Regions from separate parts of the Homo sapiens genome. Here region 1 is linked to region 2. Evidence: promoter capture Hi-C in human tissues and cell types (Jung and others, 2019). All regions are on one chromosome and are shown on one strand. The core of a region is centred on a gene start or on the middle of the fragment in contact, and the rest is flanking DNA. Distances in the headings are between cores, read along the strand shown. Region 1 overlaps EIF4EBP2 (eukaryotic translation initiation factor 4E binding protein 2). Region 2 holds the start of PPA1 (inorganic pyrophosphatase 1).

The links. The method cuts DNA at HindIII sites, captures the fragments that hold promoters and counts their contacts. A contact is called where the count stands out against the background at its distance.
Region 1: a contact is called between a fragment that was not itself captured here and the fragment with the promoter of PPA1 in region 2, in 1 of the 25 tissues and cell types used here (thymus).

What each region holds. Positions count from the first base shown.
Region 1 is chr10:70,422,087-70,424,912 of GRCh38, forward strand. EIF4EBP2 (eukaryotic translation initiation factor 4E binding protein 2) reads left to right here. Exons shown (of 3, transcript NM_004096.5): 3 at 1-2,826. Among named protein-coding and RNA genes, the nearest start is that of NODAL, 18 kb to the right of the region's middle. The HindIII fragment of the contact is 4,938 bases long and covers 1-2,826 here.
Region 2 is chr10:70,230,526-70,236,420 of GRCh38, forward strand. PPA1 (inorganic pyrophosphatase 1) reads right to left here and starts at 2,904. Exons shown (of 11, transcript NM_021129.4): 1 at 2,739-2,904. The coding sequence starts at 2,802. RefSeq lists a silencer at 2,546-3,115. The HindIII fragment of the contact is 11,213 bases long and covers 2,386-5,895 here.

The DNA.
Region 1 (2,826 bases), core at 1-2,500, 190 kb after region 2:
TGTCCCAAATCAAATATCAACCTACCAACAACTGCCTGGCTGGGAAGTCTGGGGAAGGGATACAGAGCTTGGTGGGCCTAACACCATTCATATTCCTTACCCTCTGTCTCTCCTCCCTGTATCCCACCTATGGTTCAGTGTTGCAAGAGTCTGGGCTTGGGGTCTTTAAAACCAGCAGGGGGAAATGATAAAAAGAGAGCTGCTTTCCCTTTTACCTTGAGGTATTCGTCCCTCGGGACAGAGCACAGCTTGTGCAACTCTGGTAGCGTTACCCTGTGACACTGTTTTGAGGTCCACTTCCTTTCTTTCCTCTGGGAGGAATGTCTTCTGTCTTTGGTATTATAGTTCATCTTCCCATTCTTTTACTTAGTGCATTTGTGCAGATATTTTTAACTCTGTACATCAGAAGAGAGCCCTTGGTAACCAGTTTTGCTCTTCTTCTGCCACTCCTCCCTGCTTGCATCTCGTTGCTGGCAGAGTCCTCTTGTACTTCAAGAAAGCAAAGTGATTTTGTCTGCTCCTAGAGCAGGTCCATACCAAGTAATAGAGGCACTTTAGCTTCCACTTGGTGGGTAAGGCCTGATCATAGTATTCTGTCAGATAATGCCTAAGAATGACCGCTGAAGAACGTTGACCCATTTGAGTACCCGGTCTCAGTCGTCATTTTTAAGTCCAGTGAGCATTGTGGTAGTTGTTCTTAGATTGCAGTTTCTTATGTTTTGAGTTTGAAGTTGATTTTCAGAATGTTCTTAGAAAAGAACTGCATTTTTTTCCTTTGTGGATCTGCTTTGTTTGGCTGCTGGGATAGATAAGCATGGGCTTAAAAAATGTGTTCCTCCCAGTTTTCTTGCCTTTCCTGTTGTACTCTGAATTTCTCTCCCTACCTCCCTCACTTTCTTCCTCTCTCCTTCCTTTCCTTCCTTTTTCTCTACCAGGCCATTTTTCAAATTTACATCAAAGATACCTGAAGTGTTGGTATCTGAGAATATCTGTCACTCCTCTTATCTGAGAAGTGACCTTTTATTTTTAAGATGACTACAGACCTATTTTTAGATATGTTTTCAGTACAATTTTGAACAGCAACTTTTTAATTAAACATCTTCCAGTGTTAGGAAGTTGAGAAACGTTCATAGGCAAGTCTGCTGTTCTATGTCACCATCTTTTGTCTCCCCTAGTCCCCCAGGAGCTCTTTCCTTTCCCCTCTAGTTTTGGGTGTGCATGTTTGGAGTTTGTAGTGGGTGGTTTGTAAAACTGGACCATTCTGCCTTGCTATGGGTTGTTCAAGAAAGCCTCATTCTTTTCTGTGACCCTTTCGCTTTTGCATTCACCCTCCTTCCCACCTACCTGTCCTGGGGCTGTTGAGCAGCATAATAATCCCGGGAGAATGATTCCCCTCATAGAAAGACAAAAGCATCCATCCCCTCATAGTTAAGTAGCCACTGGTGTCCTGGGAATTTCTGGTTGGATTTGGTGCCCTGAACTTTTTTATTAAGAAATCAGATCCCAGGGTGAGAGTAACAGGCCATTTGGCCAAGAAAGAAACCTGTTTGTTTTTCTTTTGAACTATGAAAAGACCCTGTTTGTGAATATATTTTAGAAAGAGAGGAAGGATGTCTGCAGAACTTTGTTCTGTTTTCTGCCACAAAAATGTGAATAGTTCAGAGTGAAAACCTTTTGTGATGGTTGATGTCTCAGGAATAAGCTGGATCTCCAATGTTTTGGGGATGCTTTGAGTCTCAAAAAAAATTGATAATCAGAAAAGTAATTTTTGTTTGTTTGTTTAATGTATCCCTGTTCTGTTTTTAATTAAACTCCAAGTCTCATTTTACATATTCTTGGAAAAACCTAAGTTGCTCTGTAATTTACATAAGAAGCATGCTCAGGACCTCTTTGTACCCCGGGGAGCCTGATTCTTTGGGAATGAAGCTTTTCATTCTTCATACACTGGCCTTGGCATCCTGTGGAATTTGACCCAACTAGCAGCTAGTCAGTCTGTCAGTGAGCAGAAGAGTGAACTCTTCTTGATCTTTATTGCTATGTGTGAAAACTTGGCTTCCTCACTGAACGGTGAGGAATGGATTTAAAGCATGAGCTTTAGTAGTATCAAGATGCCATTTTCCTTTTTCTTGCTGTCTTGGGGAGCTTCTGCATGTGACCCCCTAATCAGAAGGCATGTTTTTAGTATTTCTTGGGAGTGTCAGCTGTATAATGCAGCAGCTGTTCAATCCCTTACCCTTCTCTGCAAGGACTTCCTTACAGCTTGGTGCAGTTCTTTCCCAGAGGCCACCACTACTAGACAGTCTTTCTTTTATCTTATGGAGATAAATTGGCATTTAAAAAATAATTTCACAAGGCATGAGATAAACTTTCAATAGATGATACCTTTGTGTCATGCCTCATGGAATTATTTTTAGAACAAGCCAGAGTCCATTGAGTGGTTTACCTCTGCATGTTTGGAGGGAACCTCACAGATGAAACCCTTAATGAATAATGTGTCCGGGGTTTTTTAGAGAGAAGGAGCACTCTTAAGTTACCACTTTGAGACAGCTCTTAACATCTTAGTGACCATTTGTAGTTTTCTTTTTATGAGGAACCCATGCTTCTATACTTGGGCGGACAATCGAGCTTAATGAGAAGTGACTTCCCTTCAAATTCCAACAGCAGACATGCATTGTCATGATTCTGTCTTCTTTTTAGTGTGGTTTATTGAGTTCAGCAGTTCTCATATTCTGTTTAAATAGGTACAGCATTTTCAAGGGCACAGATACAGAGAAGCTGGCTTTCTAGGTATTGGGCTTCCAAGCCAAGAGTTTTGTCCTTCCACCT
Region 2 (5,895 bases), core at 1,654-4,153:
ATCTTGGCTCACTGCCACTTCTGTTTCCCTCTTGAAGGCTCAAGTGATCCTCCAGCCTCAGCCTCCTGAGCCGCTGGAACTACAGGCATGAGCCACTACGTCTGGCTAATTTTTGTGTCTTTTGTAGGGAGGTGGTGTTGCCATGTTCCCCAGGCTGGTCTCCAACTCCTGAGCTCAAAGCAGTCTGCCCACCTCAGCCTCCCAAAGGGCTGGAATTACAGGGGTGAGCCACCGCACCCTGCACCCGACCAGTACACATTTTTAAACCAAGATATTATTCTTACACTAGAAAAACTGTTTGTATACTTCACTTCTCCTGACTGTACTCCCAGGCTAGGCTGGGTTTACATCCTATGCACTCTGTAGGCATCTAATAAGTACTAATCTCTATAGTGAGAGCAGAGACTACTGAGGACACAAAAGGCGATTAAATTGTTTTGGACTGATCTTACATCAGTTAAGTTTACAGAACCATTATGAAGTACTTGGGAGGAAGGGAGGGGACCACTTTACTAAACAATGTTGCTAAAAGTGGTGTTCCCAGAGACAGCCAGCCATCTTAGATTATGACTTTCTTTAAGGATAATCAAGTTGCAACAAACATCTTCACAAATAATTTCTATTATATTCTAGATATATATTACTAATATATTCTAGAGGCCTAACTATAGCCAAAAAGTAATTTTAAAACTTCTTCAGTATTCTTTAGGAAACCTACTGTCCACATCGCATCCCTTCAAGTTTAAAAATCAAAGTGGAGGCCAGGCACGGTGGCTCACGCCTGTAATCCCAGCACTTTGGAAGGCCAAAGCAGGTGGATCACTGGAGGTAAGGAGTTCAAGACCAGCCTGGCCAACATGGTGAAACCCCGTCTCTACTAAAAATACAAAAATTAGTCAGGCATGGTGGCAAGTGCCTGTAATCCCAGCTACTTGGGAGGCTGAGGCAGGAGAATCACTTGAACCCGGGAGGCTGAAGTTGCAATGAGCCAAGATCATGCCACTGCACTCCAGCCTGGGCAACAGAGCGAGACTTTGTTTCAAAAAACAAACAATAAAACATAAAAGTCCCTTTAGGGCCAATTGTGACTTTGCAGTCTGTCCAGCCCTTTATCAGTTTTAAAGAAATTGACAAATGTAATATTATAAAGCTTAAAAAAGTTTATTTCTATTAAGGAAGGATAAAGCACTTAAAATTGGATAACTATGTAGTGGGTTCTAATTATTAGTATTTCTTAAGTTCCAGAGAGTTCCACTTGATAAAAACAGTTACTTCAGCTAGTGCCAAATTCTAGGAGTAGCTTTGGTCTCCCATAACGGCCACCAAATATTAATTGCAAATAAATAACCTAAGTAAAAGCAGTGTGTTTGTTCTGCATATATAGCTTGAAGATCCACCCCTCACCTTCAAACCAGACAGTCACCTCTGTAAGCCTTTCCTACAGAGAAATTCTGGAGCCAACACTATTTCCAGAAAAACAGTCCCATGAATTATTAGTCAAAAGTTACTGGACTGTCCTTGCTGCTTAATTGCAAAATTAAATAAAATGGAGAGTGGGGGGTAGTTCTCACCCTTCCTGGATTTTACCTGATAGTTAACCTTTGGCTAGATGTGTAAGCTTTACAGTTCGCTTTCCTTTTCCTCCCGCACCAGGCTACTTTTTGTTCCTTCAATGCCTATTCATTCGTCTCCTCTACTCCCCGCTTCCCCTTCCTTCATACACCAACTCAGAGTTCGAGGCACCTGCCCATTTCCTTCCAAATAAAACTGTAAAGAGGTTACAATAGAAGCGCCTGTGGTGACACATTTACGAACGCCTCCGTTATCGCCCATAATCTACTCCTAGTAGCTGGGGGTGGGGGGAGTAAGAGGATAAAGAAAAACCCCAAGTAGCTTTCCTCCACCTACAAGGCCAAAAAAACGTGGTGCCCTAAGGAGCGTGGAGGGCGCCAGCATGCAGCCTCCCGGTTTCCCCGTGCAGCCCTAGGTGCAGGACCCGGGGTAGGTACCCCCTAGACGCCGAATCCTGCAAAGGTAAAAACTTGGCACTTTCTCAGTCTTGTTTCCAGACTGACGTCATCTGTTTGATTTGAGGGAAACAGCTTTCTGTTTCATAAGGAGCATTCCCAGCATCGGCGCTGAGGGAAAACAGGCGGCGCAGAGGCAGGAGCACGACCGGGCCGCGGAGGACCGGTCCAGCGCCTTCACAGACGGCTCCCGATCCGGGCCTCAGTTTTCCCGTCTGTAAAACGAGGGGGTGGACTTGGCTCCGCTCAGCGCCGATAATCTGAGCTACGGCGGCGGAATTAAGGTCTTTAGGAAGTCACTGCCCCCCCCGGCCCGGAGTCGCCTTTTCTCCAAACTGAGCAATCCTCTTACGGGAATTATGTTACTTCCAAGCACCTTTCTAGGGTGGGTCGGTGATTTCCTTTTCCCAACAGACCCTGTCAGAGCCAGACACCTGCAAAACTAGCTGGGCCCAGGTTCGGGTACCCCGAGGCGTGACAAAGGGACCATCTCCGTTCAGCGGGGAGGGATGGCCGGAGGCGACCCTCGCCGCCCCGACCGGCGGCGGCAAGTATGCAATGTGAGGCCGGCCAGGCCCCACAACGCGCCCGAGGAGACGGGCCCGCGTCGGAGACCTGGGGCCGAGCGCGGGCCGCACCCTCCCGGGGAGGCAAGGCCCGGGAATGAATGGGCGGACGGGCGCGGAGGGGCCACGGGCCGCAGACACTCACTGAGGAAGACTCGGTACTCCAGGGAGAAGGGCGCGGCGCGCTCCTCGGTGCTGAAGCCGCTCATAGTGCCGGAGTCCTGCCGCCGCCGCTGCCACAGAGCCACCAGCCCGCACGCGGCGCCGACTGACAAGGAGAGAGCCCCACGCCTGCGCACTGCGAGCACTGGACCGGCGGGCGGGGCGGGGAGCGCCTTTAACGCGGCTCTGCTAGTGTTCCCACCCCCGCCGGGCCAACCCCGTGCGCAGGCGCACTCCGCCAGGCCCGGGTGTCCGCACTCCCCAGCCCCGCCCCTCGGGCCCAGCCTCCGCGATGGCAGCTAGGGCTCAGAGGCTGGGCCACGTGGCTGCCGCCGGCGCTGGTTCTGTTCCTTCGGCTTTGGGCTCTGACCCGGGAGGGCAAATGCGCAGGCTCTAAGCTTGGACTAGCTAGGAGTTGACCGCCGACCACGCACACAGGGAACTCACCTTTGATTCTCACACACTCCTCCCCGCAGTCCTATTCCTTATCTCAAAAGGCGTTGATAAGTCACCTGCTTCCCCAGACAGGCTCTGCTTGCGGTCTTAAAGGTGAGCATTTTTCTGATCCGTCGTAACAAAGTTGAGCCATATTACTGACACCCCTAGTGGCTACTAGTAAGGTACTCGCTTCTCCACTTTCTATAATCTCTCTCACTCCGTTGCTTATCTGGGAAGTGAAGATAATAATATAACTATTTCATGAGTTACTGGGATGATTACCCGAGTTAATACACGTCAAATGCCTGAAGCAGAGCCTGTATCTTTGTAAACAATCTGGAAGTTGTTACTGTCACCCTCCCCAGTGGGGGAGGATTTACGCCCCCGCGCCCCCCGCCCCCTCCATCCCCCCTGCCACCCTACTTAACCCACCTGGGTCTCCAGGGGCTTCAGATGGAAGCACTGGGAAGGTCCAGGCGTGAGCTAGAGTCCCGTGAAGGAGTGTTCTCAGGGACAGGCTCTTCTGATCTTGATTTCCTGTTTATATTCCATCATATCAGGCCAGACCCCAAAAACTAAAGTCTGATTGAGGCAGTGGGAAAATATTTGCATCACTTACCTCCCCAGGAATACATGTAAAAGAAAAAAAGTATATCCACAATCCTAAATATAAATTAGCAAATTATTATTCACATTTCAAAGAATGCCTGGTTTTATTTATTTATTTATTTTAATTTCATGGCCAGGATTTCTTTAAATAACTTTTTCTAGAACATTAAAGATAATGTGCCTTAATGACATTTTGAATTAAACCCTTTTTTCCAAACAATGTCTATTGTAAAAAATGAATATTAAATGAAAACCTAGTAAGATCTCCAGTTAGTTATGGTGTCGCTCCCTTTGTCTCCATCCAACTCCCAAACCTCACTGACACCCATTAATTTTCAGAAGGCTGTGATTCACTGATTTTTTGAACATTTCACCACACTGTTTTACTGCTGTTAAAACAGAAGGGCAGGAAAAAAAATTAGCGAAGCAATAGTTTAGTCAATAATTAGGGTCAAGGCCAGGCGCGGTGACTTACGCCTTCAATCCCAGCACTTTGGGAGGCCGAGGTGGGCGGATTACCCGACGTCAGGAGTTGGAAACCAGCCTGGCCAACACAGTGAAACCCTGTCCCTAGTAAAAATACAAAAATTAGCTGGGCGTGGTTGCACGCGCCTGTAATCCCAGCTACTCGGGAGACTGAGGCAGGAGAACACTTGATCCCGAGAGGCGGAGGTTGCGGTGAGTTGAGATCACGCCAGTGCATTCCAGCCTGGGTGACAGAGCGAGACTCTGTTTCAGAAAAAAAAGTAGGATCAAGTTCAAAGAATATTTTAAGGGGATGCTCTTTTGATTGAACTGCTCTATCACTTTTCTGCCTTTGAGCAGATGGAACCAATTTTCTTGGAAAAACCCAGACTCTCATCTGTGACTGACTTAAGAAGACAGCAGTGATGCAATAATAATGTTCTACATACACTTTCCCTTTGCCTCCTGCCAGCTCAGAGCAAGATAATAAAGTCTCACTGACCTCCAGACTTGCACACTGGCTCTTGTTTCATCGAATGTATTCAGAGAGCCAGTCATTATCAGGTCTGGTAAAACACCCAGCCCTGGTGAATTGTAACTTTCCTTTGCAGGCAAGTGTAGTGAGCCCATAGGCCCAAAAGGACCTTGGTCTACCATGTCTCCCTAGGGCCTAGCACAGTACACAGCCTAGAGTAGATGTTTAGTGAATCTTTGCTGGACGGATAGGTAGAGGAATTAATGTAAAGGTGGAAAATACCTTCTTAAGTACATTAGTTTGACAAAGAAGGAGTCCATCTCTTCTCAAATATTATCTTTCTCACTCAGTGACCAAATCTAGTGGCACTTTTCAGTCCATATCCTGTCCCCTTTGCTGTGGGTGACCCTGTTGGGTGTCTCTAATTTCCTTCTTTGGCTTGCGACTACATTCTCTTCTTTTTTTTTTTTTTCTTTTTTGAGACAGAGTCTCACTCTGTCACCCAGGCTGGAGTACAGTGGTGTGATTTCGGCTCACTGCAACCTCCACCTCCCAGGTTCAAGTGATTCTTGTACCTCAGCCTCCTGAGTAGCTGGGATCACAGGCATGCACCACCATGCCTGGCTAATTTTAGTATTTTTAGTAGAGATGTGTTTTCATCATGTTGGCCAGGCTAGCCTCGAACTCCTGGCCTCAAATGATCTGCCCACCTCAGCCTCCCAGAGTGTTGGGATTACAGGCGTGAGACACGGTGCCAGGCCACGACTACATTCTCTTCTCGTGTTCTTCCTACTTCTTTTTTTTTTTTTTTTGAGATGGGGTCTCGCTCTGTCGCCCAGGCTGGAGTGCGGTGGTGCGATCTCGGCTCACTGCAACCTCCGCCTCTCGGGTTCAAGCAATTCTCCCGCCTCAGCCTCCAGAGTAGCTGGGATTACAGGCGCCTGCCACCACGCCCAGCTAATTTTTTGTACCTTTAGTAGAGACCGGGTTTCACCATGTTGGCCAAACTGGTCTCGAAGCCCTGACCTCGTGATCTGCCTGCCTCGGCCTCCCAAAGTGCTGGGATTACAGGCATGAGCCACCACGCCCGGCCCATTCCTACTTCTTTGCTACTCATTTCTCATTCTCCTTCTCAGCCTTCATTTCATCATCT